2 separate regions of the Homo sapiens genome follow, and region 2 is linked to region 1. The links are contacts of gene promoters, found by promoter capture Hi-C in human tissues and cell types (Jung and others, 2019). All regions are on one chromosome and are shown on one strand. Each heading gives the region's core, a stretch centred on a gene start or on the middle of the fragment in contact. The rest is flanking DNA. Distances are from core to core; before and after follow the strand shown. Region 1 holds the start of FOXF1 (forkhead box F1). Region 2 overlaps LINC01081 (long intergenic non-protein coding RNA 1081).

Region 1 (5,461 bases), core at 1,815-4,314:
CCAACTGAAGAGGGCCCAGGAGTGAAGGAGTCTGCTGGGAAAGGGCTCCCCAACTTCATGCTCTAGGGACCCGCTCACTTTGAAGGCGCCCCATGAGTGGGGGAGGGGCGAGGGGAAGGGAGATGCTATTTCCACTTTCAGCGAGCCGCAGCGTGCGCCCTGCACCCCTAGCTGGCTTAAGAGCTGTGCAGCCTTCTCTGCTCACCTCTGCTAAGGGCCAGATGTGCTCTGGCAGTCGGCAGTAGCGACCCCTTCCTGGGAACAGAACTTTCCTCCGGAGGCCAGGGTCTCCTCATCTGCAACTGCCATTTGCCACACACACACACACAAAAGTTGGGAGAGAATGTGAGAATGCTTGTGTTCGTGGACGCGTGCGCACGTATGGAGCGGCGGTACCTATGATTATTTGCGCGTGGCGCCTGGCTATGCGTGGGCGAACGCGCAGTGGAGAACATGTGGGCGTGCATGAAGTGTGCACTTAAACCAAAGTGTGCCCTCCCCGTTGGGCAGGCCTGTGTGTTGGTCCAAGGGTTGGGAGCGCCTGAGCTGTGTGAGGGTCGCTGGGAAGGGTGTTTGAGGCCGTGGGCGGTGCGGAGCGTGTCTGTGTGCGCGGAGGCTGAGCTGGTTGTGTGAAGTGGTAGCGGGTCTGCCAGAGAGCGTTTACCTGCGTGAATGCACAACCACACACTACGGGTCACGTCCCACACTCATTCTTTCCCTAGGCGGGCCAGGCTGTCTGCACGCGGAGACCCAGAGAGGCCAGCGGAAGGGCAGCGCGGGAAGGCGGCTCTCTTCTCCCGCGAGCGCAGATCTGGCGGAGGAGGCGGCGACTGCCCGGCAGGCTGCGCCGGCGAGCCCCCCAGCTCCTCTCACCGACGTGCCAGGCGCCCCGAAGGCGACAGGCGTCTCCCGCCGAAAATGAAGGCGTCCGAGCCAGGAAGGTGGGGGCGGGTAGTTAGCGGGAGACAAGGAGTCCGGAGAAAACCGAGAGGCGGGTAGGCTTTGAACGCGCCGCGCCGCGGGCCGTGCTGCGAGCCCGGCACACGCCTCTCGCCCCAGCTCGCGCTGGGGCTTGGCCTCTAGGCTCTTCGCGATGACCCGCGAAAACACCCCTCGCCCCCCTCTTCTCAACTCGGAACCCTGGAGGGAGAGGCCGCGCCCGGCCAGCAGTCGCTGCGAGAGCAGCACTCACCTGGGTCTGTGCGCGCCGCGATGCGCCGGGGCTCCTGCGCTGTCCTGCGCTCCGCTCTCGGCACCACCTTTCGTGGCTCCACCGCCCCCAGCCCGCACCCGAGCGCTGAGGTGGCAAGGGCAGGTCTGCGTGCGAGCCCCCTGCGGGCTGGCAGCCAGGTGCGCGAGGGCCGCCCTTGCCGGCGCTCCCAGCCCGCGCTGTCTGCTCTCAGGAACCTGGCCTGGCGCGCAGTGTCAGAGGCCCCGCGGCGGCGGCAGGCCGAGCCCACAGGGGCATTAGGCCAACTCCCCCCTCCCGCCCTGCGCACGCGGAATTCTCTATTATTATTATTAAAGAATCCCCCAGAACTTGTTTACGTTAAACCCTGTAAACTTCCTGCCAGGGCCTTTGCCATCTCTCGGGAAATCGGAACCTGCGCTTTGAAAACGGGGCCGCGGGGCCAAATAGGCGGGTTTTCAGTGTGTGTTGGGGGTGGGGGAGGGCAACTGAACTACGTGTGAGTTCAGATCCGAGCGTGGCGTGTGTACGCGTGAGTGGGAGTGAGTGCGAACTTAAGCTCCTGTGGGCCTTAAGCTTCCGTGTCAACGAGTGCATTAGTGGGTGCGCACATGCCTGAGCGCCCTCTGCATATGAGTGTGCACACACGCATGGGTGTGTTTACACGTCTGTTTGCGTAATTTACCGGGTTTGCATGTGCATCAAGACATGTATGTGTGTGCTAATGTGTGGACAAGAGCGCGAGGGTGTGCGCGCACGGGTGAGTGACTGAGCACGCCGCTTATTCAGGGGCCTGTGCGGTCTGGGTCGCCTCTGGGCCAGCGGGTTCTCACTCGCCCCCGTCAGGCCCGCGGCGCCCGAGACAAAGCGGCCGCGACTCGTGCTGCGCTTTCGTTTTCCGCCTGCGCTCTGCCCCGGCGGCTGCCCGCCCGCTCGCAAGCTGCTGGGCGAGTCCGAAAAATCCCGGGAGCGGCGCAGTTCTTCCCGGGGCGGGGAGAGTGGGTAGGCGGTCCCTCGCGGGAACTTAGCCGGCCGGCCGCGAGGACCGGAGTCGAGCCGGCTGTGCCTGCGATGGTCACGACCGGGAGGCCGCCGCACTTGCGATTTGCTACAGGGCTGTGCGCGTCGGGGAAGGCCCCGGCCCAGGGAGCGTTTCCCGCCGCGCCGCCCGGGCGGGGAAGGCGGGGTCCAGCGCGCACCGGGGCTGAACCGCGGGCGGAGGGCGCATTAACACTTGCTCGCCAGGTTGGTGGAGGCGGGGCGGATTCTGCTGGCGGCCGCGGGGCGGCGAGAGTGGGGGCTCTTTAAGCGCCCACCAACGCGGGGGCCCGAGGGGGGCAGGGACGGAGGGAGGGAACTCCGGGAGGGTCTTAGGCCGACCCGCGAGACGCAGCCGAGCGGAGATGGAGTGAAGGCTGCCTCGCCCGGAATCTCGGAGCCGAGCGCCGCGGGCGGCGGGGACTCAGGGCTGCTCCCGGCTGGGGCGCACGGCCGTAAGACCTGGAGGTGGTGCCTCCCCCCAAAAAATACCGGCGGGGGTAGCTTCCTCACGGCCTTCGCCCGGGCTGCCCTCGGCCTCAGCTCGGCTCCTTTCCTTGTGGGAGGGCGAGAAAGAAAGAGGGAGGAGAGAGGTGGGGGAGGCGGGAGTTGGAGAGAGAGGGGCTCTGAGCCAACCGCCGGCGGATCCAGCAGCTCCTCGGGGAGGGCGGGCGGGAGCGCGGGGGCGGGCGCGCCGCGGCTCGCTCGGGAGAAGTGGCCGCCGATGACGGCAGAGGTGCAGCCAGCCCCGCGCGCGCAGCCCCCTCCCCTTCGCCCTCCTCCCCCCCGTCGTCCTCTTCCTCCTCCTCCTCCTCCTCCTCCCGGCCCGTCCGCGGCGCAGAGCAGCGGCGGCAGCGGCGGCGGCGGCAGCAGCCACCCGATGTCTTCGGCGCCCGAGAAGCAGCAGCCACCGCACGGCGGCGGCGGCGGCGGCGGCGGGGGAGGCGGCGCGGCCATGGACCCCGCGTCGTCCGGCCCGTCCAAGGCCAAGAAGACCAACGCCGGCATCCGGCGCCCGGAGAAGCCGCCCTATTCCTACATCGCGCTCATCGTCATGGCCATCCAGAGTTCACCCACCAAGCGCCTGACGCTGAGCGAGATCTACCAGTTCCTGCAGAGCCGCTTCCCCTTCTTCCGGGGCTCCTACCAGGGCTGGAAGAACTCCGTGCGCCACAACCTCTCGCTCAACGAGTGCTTCATCAAGCTACCCAAGGGCCTTGGGCGGCCCGGCAAGGGCCACTACTGGACCATCGACCCGGCCAGCGAGTTCATGTTCGAGGAGGGCTCCTTTCGGCGGCGGCCGCGCGGCTTCCGAAGGAAATGCCAGGCGCTCAAGCCCATGTACAGCATGATGAACGGGCTCGGCTTCAACCACCTCCCGGACACCTACGGCTTCCAGGGCTCGGCCGGCGGCCTCTCGTGCCCGCCCAACAGCCTGGCGCTGGAGGGCGGCCTGGGCATGATGAACGGCCACTTGCCGGGCAACGTGGACGGCATGGCCCTGCCCAGCCACTCGGTGCCCCACCTGCCTTCCAACGGCGGCCACTCGTACATGGGCGGCTGCGGCGGCGCGGCGGCCGGCGAGTACCCGCACCACGACAGCTCGGTGCCCGCCTCCCCGCTGCTGCCCACCGGCGCCGGTGGGGTCATGGAGCCGCACGCCGTCTACTCGGGCTCGGCGGCGGCCTGGCCGCCCTCGGCGTCCGCGGCGCTCAACAGCGGCGCCTCTTATATCAAGCAGCAGCCCCTGTCCCCCTGTAACCCCGCGGCCAACCCCCTGTCCGGCAGCCTCTCCACGCACTCCCTGGAGCAGCCGTATCTGCACCAGAACAGCCACAACGCCCCAGCCGAGCTGCAAGGTGAGTGGGGAGGCCGAGGGCGCCCTGGTCCCCGGGAAGTCGAGTCTGAGTGGCAGCGGGACCCAGCTGGGGCGAGCCCCTCCACTTCTGTGGTCGGAACCCCAAGGCTGAGGGGAGGCACCAGCTCCCCAAGGTGTCTCTTGGCCCCACCTCTCCCCCTTCGAAGAGTGACTACCGCTCTTGACCCTAGTTTGGGCCAATCTGTTTCTCTTTCTGTTCGAACTCCAGCTGCCAGCTGCTCCAGGCCTGACCAGGTAGGCTGGTCCTGAGCCAGATGTCCCAGACCCCAGTGCCCTAAGTCCTTTTGTGTCCCTTAAGTCCCCTCACAGCTTGGAAAGATCCTGGGATGGACCCAAGGCTCCCAGCGCTGGCCAGATGGCTGTCCCTCCCTGGTGGTGGCCCTCAGGCTGCCTGGAGGGCTGCCTCTGCCTGGGGCTGGGCGGAACGGAAGGTGTTAGGCCCAAAGCCGCTGGGCCAGCGCTCAGAGGCTCAGCCCCGGCCTTTCAGGGGACCAGACCTGGCAGACCCACAGCTGAGTCCAGGGGCATTTTGTGGTGACTGAGGCAGGAGGGTGCCGTGGCCAGGCCCCGGAGGGTCAGAGCTGCAGACCGGGCCATGGGGGCTCCTTGTTTTTTAGGATCCAAGTTTTCAGGTCCCCACACCCCCAACACCCCTGATACCCCAATACCCCGAACATGCAGAAGCATCTGCCAAGGGAGATGCAGCAGCCTCGCCTCCTGATTCTGCCCCAGGCCCCCCGCAGCCTGCAGGCCCAGCTCTGGAAAAAGCTGGAGTGAGCTTGCCAGGGCCAGTCCAGGGTCAGCTGTCAGCAGCCCCAGGAGGCAGGAGCCAGGCCTGGAGGCCTTAGGCAGCCTCTCTGCGGGGGACTCCCCGGCTCCGGGGCCTGTTCTCTGGAGAAGCTTCTTCTCACCCCTGCTGCTGGCCCGGCGCTGGCCCTGCACTGGCCTCTCCTTCAACCCCGCCGGCAGTCGTAGCCTCTGAGGTTGGGGGTGGTGGTGGCTGCCCTGGCGGTGACGGCCATGGGCGTTAGGGGCCCTCCACTTGGTCTCCCTCACCACTTCCCCTATGGCTCTGGAAGCCCTGGGCCCCTGCACGGTGTCCGAGGCTGGACAGGCACGCAGCAGGCAGGCAGGCAGGCAGGCAGGCAGGCCGTGGCAAGTGTTCTGGAGTCTTTTCCTTGGGTGCGCAGCTGGAAGGCCGGGACTCGGGGAGGAGAGCGGGGAGGCGGCCGTGCTCTGGAGCCAGGCTGACAGGCCCTGTGCGCCCCACGGGAGCACTGCTCCTCTGCCTGAACTCTGAGCCACCGTGGCTAACTCTTCTGCTCCCCCAACCCCTCCTGTCGCCTCGCCTTGCA
Region 2 (4,719 bases), core at 726-3,225, 280 kb before region 1:
GAGAGATTGTTGTGTGGATTTTATGTGAACACAGCAAAGATTACTTTCTGTGAGGAGGTGAGGGTCATCCACCCACCCACCACCACCCATTCACCCATTTATTCATCCACCCTTCCACCCATTTGTCCATCCATCCATCCATTCATCCACCCACCTGTTCGTTGAAATCATATTCCCATCAGGTGCCAGGCACTGGCTAGTCTGGCTTTGAGGATTCAGCAGTATTTCAGCACCTGCTATCTCAGAACCAAGGTTGGCCCAGAGGAGACCCTGTGGAATGTTTGTTGAATGAATGAGTAATTTTTCTTCTGAAACCAAAATGGAATGCTTTTATATTTTGAATGAGTAATTCTTTGAGTAAATGAATGGATTGGTGAAACAATAAGTGGTGTTGGGATAGACTAGTTCCAGGAATCCAACTCCATTATCATCTCAGGCCTCTGATATCTTGGCTCTTTGGCTCTGTCTGTGATTGCTTGGCAGCTTCAGCACTTGTCAGTCTCTCCCAGGAGGAGGGCAAGCCCTGGGGCTGGCGGGTTGAGAGGTGTCTTCCCAGGGCACATGGTGCTGCTCAGTGACTGGGGACTGTGCTCTTTCTACACCTTGTGGGCCCTTCTCCAAAGGACCCACCCCCCAAGGGGACCCTTGTCCATGAGTTGCTTCCTCTTCTCCAGCCGAACCAGTTGGTTTCTAGCCCACCTCCGGCCATCAGTGCAGAGCAGGGCTTTAGGGAGTTGGGGCACCCACCCTCAGTATTCCACTCTCTTCTGCATGAGGTAAATCTCCAGTCATCAGAAGAAACAATAAGATGAAAAGCTGACCACATTGTAATGCTCATTAGCACAAAAACCCACAGCTGCACTTGATATTGGGGGTGGTAGGGGGGAAGGCCAGGAGGGGAGGCAAGGGGGTCCTGTGGATTGCCCACCTGTAGCCTGTGAACTCACCAAGTGCATTGAAAGGGGAGCCTCGTTTGTTAAGTAGATGATGATCAATGCCACATCTGATGCCCGATTGGAATGGGACAGGCCTGGAAAGGGCCTGATTGGGATGAGCAGTGTCTAGGGTTCCGTCTCCACCTGCACCTGCAATGGGGTAGGGATGGAAAGGGGTGGGCACACTCTAGGCATGTTTGGCTCTATCTGTAGTGGGTGACCCAGCCTTCCCATCATGCCACCCTTTCTCACCACTCCTGTAGGAGCCCAGACTCCCTGCTTTCGAATCTCAGCTCCTTTACTGCTTAGCTGCAGGCAGGTGAGGCCCAGATCCCAGGAGAGGGATTAGACCCAAGCTGTTTGCTGTGTCCACCTGATAATTATGGTAACATATTTTGAGCGCTCACCTTGGTCCAATGCCAGGTGAAGCACTTTGAATGGTTGACTTCCCAAAACCTCGCGGGGTGGGCGTCATCGCCATTGTCATTTTGTACCTTGAGCTCCCAAGGCTCAGCAAGATCCAAGCAACTTGACCTCTCACACGGCAGGGCCAGGACTCCACCCTGGTCTGACCCTGAGCATCTCTGAGCACTTGGAAGGGGTCCACAGCACCCGGGAGTGGCCGGTGCTGTGGAGCTGAAGTTGATGAGCTTGTGAAATGCTGAAGCCTCCCTGGGCCTGGGGTGGGTGGCCCAGCCACCTATCCTGCAGATGGAGAGCTGGGTCGTGCCTGTGGGCAGGGGGACCTCAGCCAGATGACCTATGTGCTATGTCCTAGTAGGCTGCTGCTGCTGCTGCCTGGATAACTATTTTCCAGCGACCAACCCAGAGGCTGACTGAGAAAATATTCCTCCAACAGGCAAGAGGAGGGCAAGGAAGGTGGTTCATGGGATCCTGAAATCCGGTTCTGCTGTCTTAAGGGAATTCTCCACTGTGTCCCAGGCATTCTGAATTGGGATCCCCACTTGGGTGTGCCTTAGCCATTGGCCTTTTGAGAGCACACCCCAGCATCTGTGTCGCAGAGTCTAGACCTTCCCTGGCAGGCAGGAAGCCCATCCTGACTCTGTGGGAGGAAGCCTGGTTCCCCGTGTCGGAGGATGGAGTGAGGTGGAAGGACTTCAGTCCAATATACTATTCTCTCTTTTCTTCTGCTTTTGTTTTTTCTCTTCATTTCCCCAATATCAACCCCAGAATGGAAGATCACTTCAAATCCCATTTTGTTGCATGGACTTTTTTTCTTGTTGTTTCTTAGCAGAGACCAATTTTGGATGAATAACTTGTGACCGCAGAAACATGACACCAAAGCAACAGCGCTGGGTGGCAAATTTCTCCGTTACCACAAATATCCTTTCTCCTCGAGGACCAGACTGGAAGCATTTGGGGTTGTTTGTGCGTCCCGTCCTCAATCAGCCAGAGGAGGGGCCTTGGGAGCGGCAGCATGCCCGTCCCGCCCCCGCGCCCTCCTCCTGCCACCAGATGTGTGTTTTTCTCTTTGCAGGACTTTTGCTGAATCTCGACAGGTTCTTTGGTCCTGGGGTGTGAGGTTCTTCCCCTTCTGTGGCCCAGGGGGTGCTGAGTGCAAAGCTCGTGCCTGTAACGTGTGCTGATGCCCTGACTGGCACTGACTGTGGCTTATGAGGAGGGAAGGATGAGTTACACATCCCCTGGGTCTGTTCTTTAGCCCTGTTTCCTTGGCATTCAGAGACTTGGATGCTGGCCCTGTCAAGATTTGGATCTACTTGGGAAGAAAAAGGGATCCTGGTGTCAGCGGCCACATCATACACTGCAGAGATGCCGTGTCCTGCCGTTGTGTGCTGGTGATGAAGCTTTCATGATTAGTGAGTAGTGCTTTTCCTCCTCCAGGGAGGATGCACCCACACACAAAGGAATAAGGAAACTTGGTTTGGGTGAGACTTGAATACTGCCCTTAGCCTCTGATACCTTTTTATCTTCCCAACATTGTATTATAAAATATTTCAAACATACAGAAAAATTACACAAATAGTACACATGTATCCACACCAAGATTCTGCAACTGTCACGATCCTGTGATTCTTGTATAATCCCTCCCTCCCTCCCTCCCTACCTACCTTCCTTCCTTCCTTCCTTCCCTCCTTCCCTCCCTCTCTCCCTCCCTCCCTCCCTCCCATATTAGTTCATTCTCACATTGTTATAAAGAGGCTGAGGAGGCCTCAGGAAACTGACAATCATAGCGGAAGGGGAAGCAAGCATGTCTTACATGCTGGCAGGTGAGAGAGAGAAAGTGAAGGAGGAACTGTCAAACACTTATAAAACCATCAGTCCTCGTGAGAACTCACTATCATGAGAACAGCATGGGGGAAACTGCTGCCATGATCCAATCACCTCCCACCAGGTCCTTCCCTCAACACGTAGAGATGAAGGGGATTACAATTTGAGATGAGATTTGGGTGGGGACACAGAGCCAAACCATATCACTTCCTCTCGCTATCCATCTTTCCTGCCATCTTATTCTTTTTAACTGATTTTACTTTTTTAAGAACACACTAAATTGAGAAAATAGTACAGAGAGTCCCCATATACCTCACACCCACTCTGGTTATTGCTAACTTCTTACATTAGTCTAGTACATTTAAGAAACCAATTATATTGATTACAGTTAATGAACCCATATTAATATGTTATTATTTCATTATTAATTAAAGTCCATACTTTATTCAGATTTCCTTTGTTTTTACATAATGTCCTCTTTCTGCCCCAGGATCCTGTCCAGGAGCCCACATGGCATTAACCATCAGGTTTCCTTCAGCTCCTTTGTGCTGGGAGCCTGTTGGCCTCCCCTTGTTTCTGACGACCTTGACAGTGTGAAGGAGGCCACTCAGGTGTTTTCAGAATGTTCCTCAGCTGGGATTGGGCTGCTGTGTGCTCATGGTTAGACAGGGCTCCGTGTTATTTTCTGATGAATTTCCTAGTCACCCTATGCACCCTTTTTGTCCAGTAGAAAATGGAGAAAATGAGACCATACCCACACCACAGAGGGGTTGTGACACAATGGGGAGGGGCATGGGTTCTGGGTCACCTGCCTGGACTTGAATCCCAGCTCCAGCATTCACTAGTGGTGACTGTGGTCAACACACTTGGTTTCCTTATGCCTCAGTTTCCTCCTCTGCAAAATGGGCATAAAACTGTTTTATTAGAAGGTGCTGTGGGGATTAATGCAACTCTGTGGATAGTGAGCCCTCAGCAAAGACTGCCTGTTGCTCTTGATGTTAGGAATGCCAAGCACAGACAATCTTCACCATGAAGGCTTGGGAGGGCTTTTGTGCCCTTTGACGGTGGGAAGCTTGGAGTAGATGTGGCTTTTTCTTGGAAACAGCACACCCCCAGATGGTGGGGCTCAAAGCACAGGTGTTAGCGGAGTGACAGTGACACCCCGTGATGATGGCATGGGGCCTGGCTCTGACACGTGGAGCAGTGCCCTCAAACGTGGGCCTGTGGATGGGCAGCCTCCCCGGGCTTCCTTCTCCCTCCTTCTCAGCCACATGTCTCCTGCTGGGAGCTTCCTCATCCCAGGCCACTGCCCCGTCAGGCAAACAGTTTTTCTAATAACGAAGAGAGCAGCATATTTAATCTGGGGACCTATTTCATTATTGCTGCAAACATTTCTGTTTTATTGGCATGCCAGGAGATAAGCTAGGACCGTGGAAGAGCCACGGCTGCCACCGGGAACCGCTTCCTTCCCAGCCCCCCGGAGACTCTGGGCATGTGCCATGGCGCCGCCCAACGGCATGAAGGAGACTCTGGC

Evidence for each region. The method cuts DNA at HindIII sites, captures the fragments that hold promoters and counts their contacts. A contact is called where the count stands out against the background at its distance.
Region 2: a fragment that was not itself captured here is called in contact with the fragment with the promoter of FOXF1 in region 1 in 1 of the 25 tissues and cell types used here (IMR-90 fibroblasts).

What each region holds. Positions count from the first base shown.
Region 1 is chr16:86,507,463-86,512,923 of GRCh38, forward strand. FOXF1 (forkhead box F1) reads left to right here and starts at 3,065. Exons shown (of 2, transcript NM_001451.3): 1 at 3,065-4,086. The coding sequence starts at 3,108. It overlaps FENDRR (FOXF1 adjacent non-coding developmental regulatory RNA), which reads right to left and starts at 1,398. Exons shown (of 4, transcript NR_033925.1): 1 at 1,193-1,398. RefSeq lists an enhancer at 4,558-5,324. The HindIII fragment of the contact is 9,827 bases long and covers 1-5,461 here.
Region 2 is chr16:86,225,693-86,230,411 of GRCh38, forward strand. LINC01081 (long intergenic non-protein coding RNA 1081) reads right to left here. Exons shown (of 6, transcript NR_104139.1): 4 at 948-1,085; 5 at 155-270. Among named protein-coding and RNA genes, the nearest start is that of LINC01082, 32 kb to the left of the region's middle. The HindIII fragment of the contact is 3,067 bases long and covers 443-3,509 here.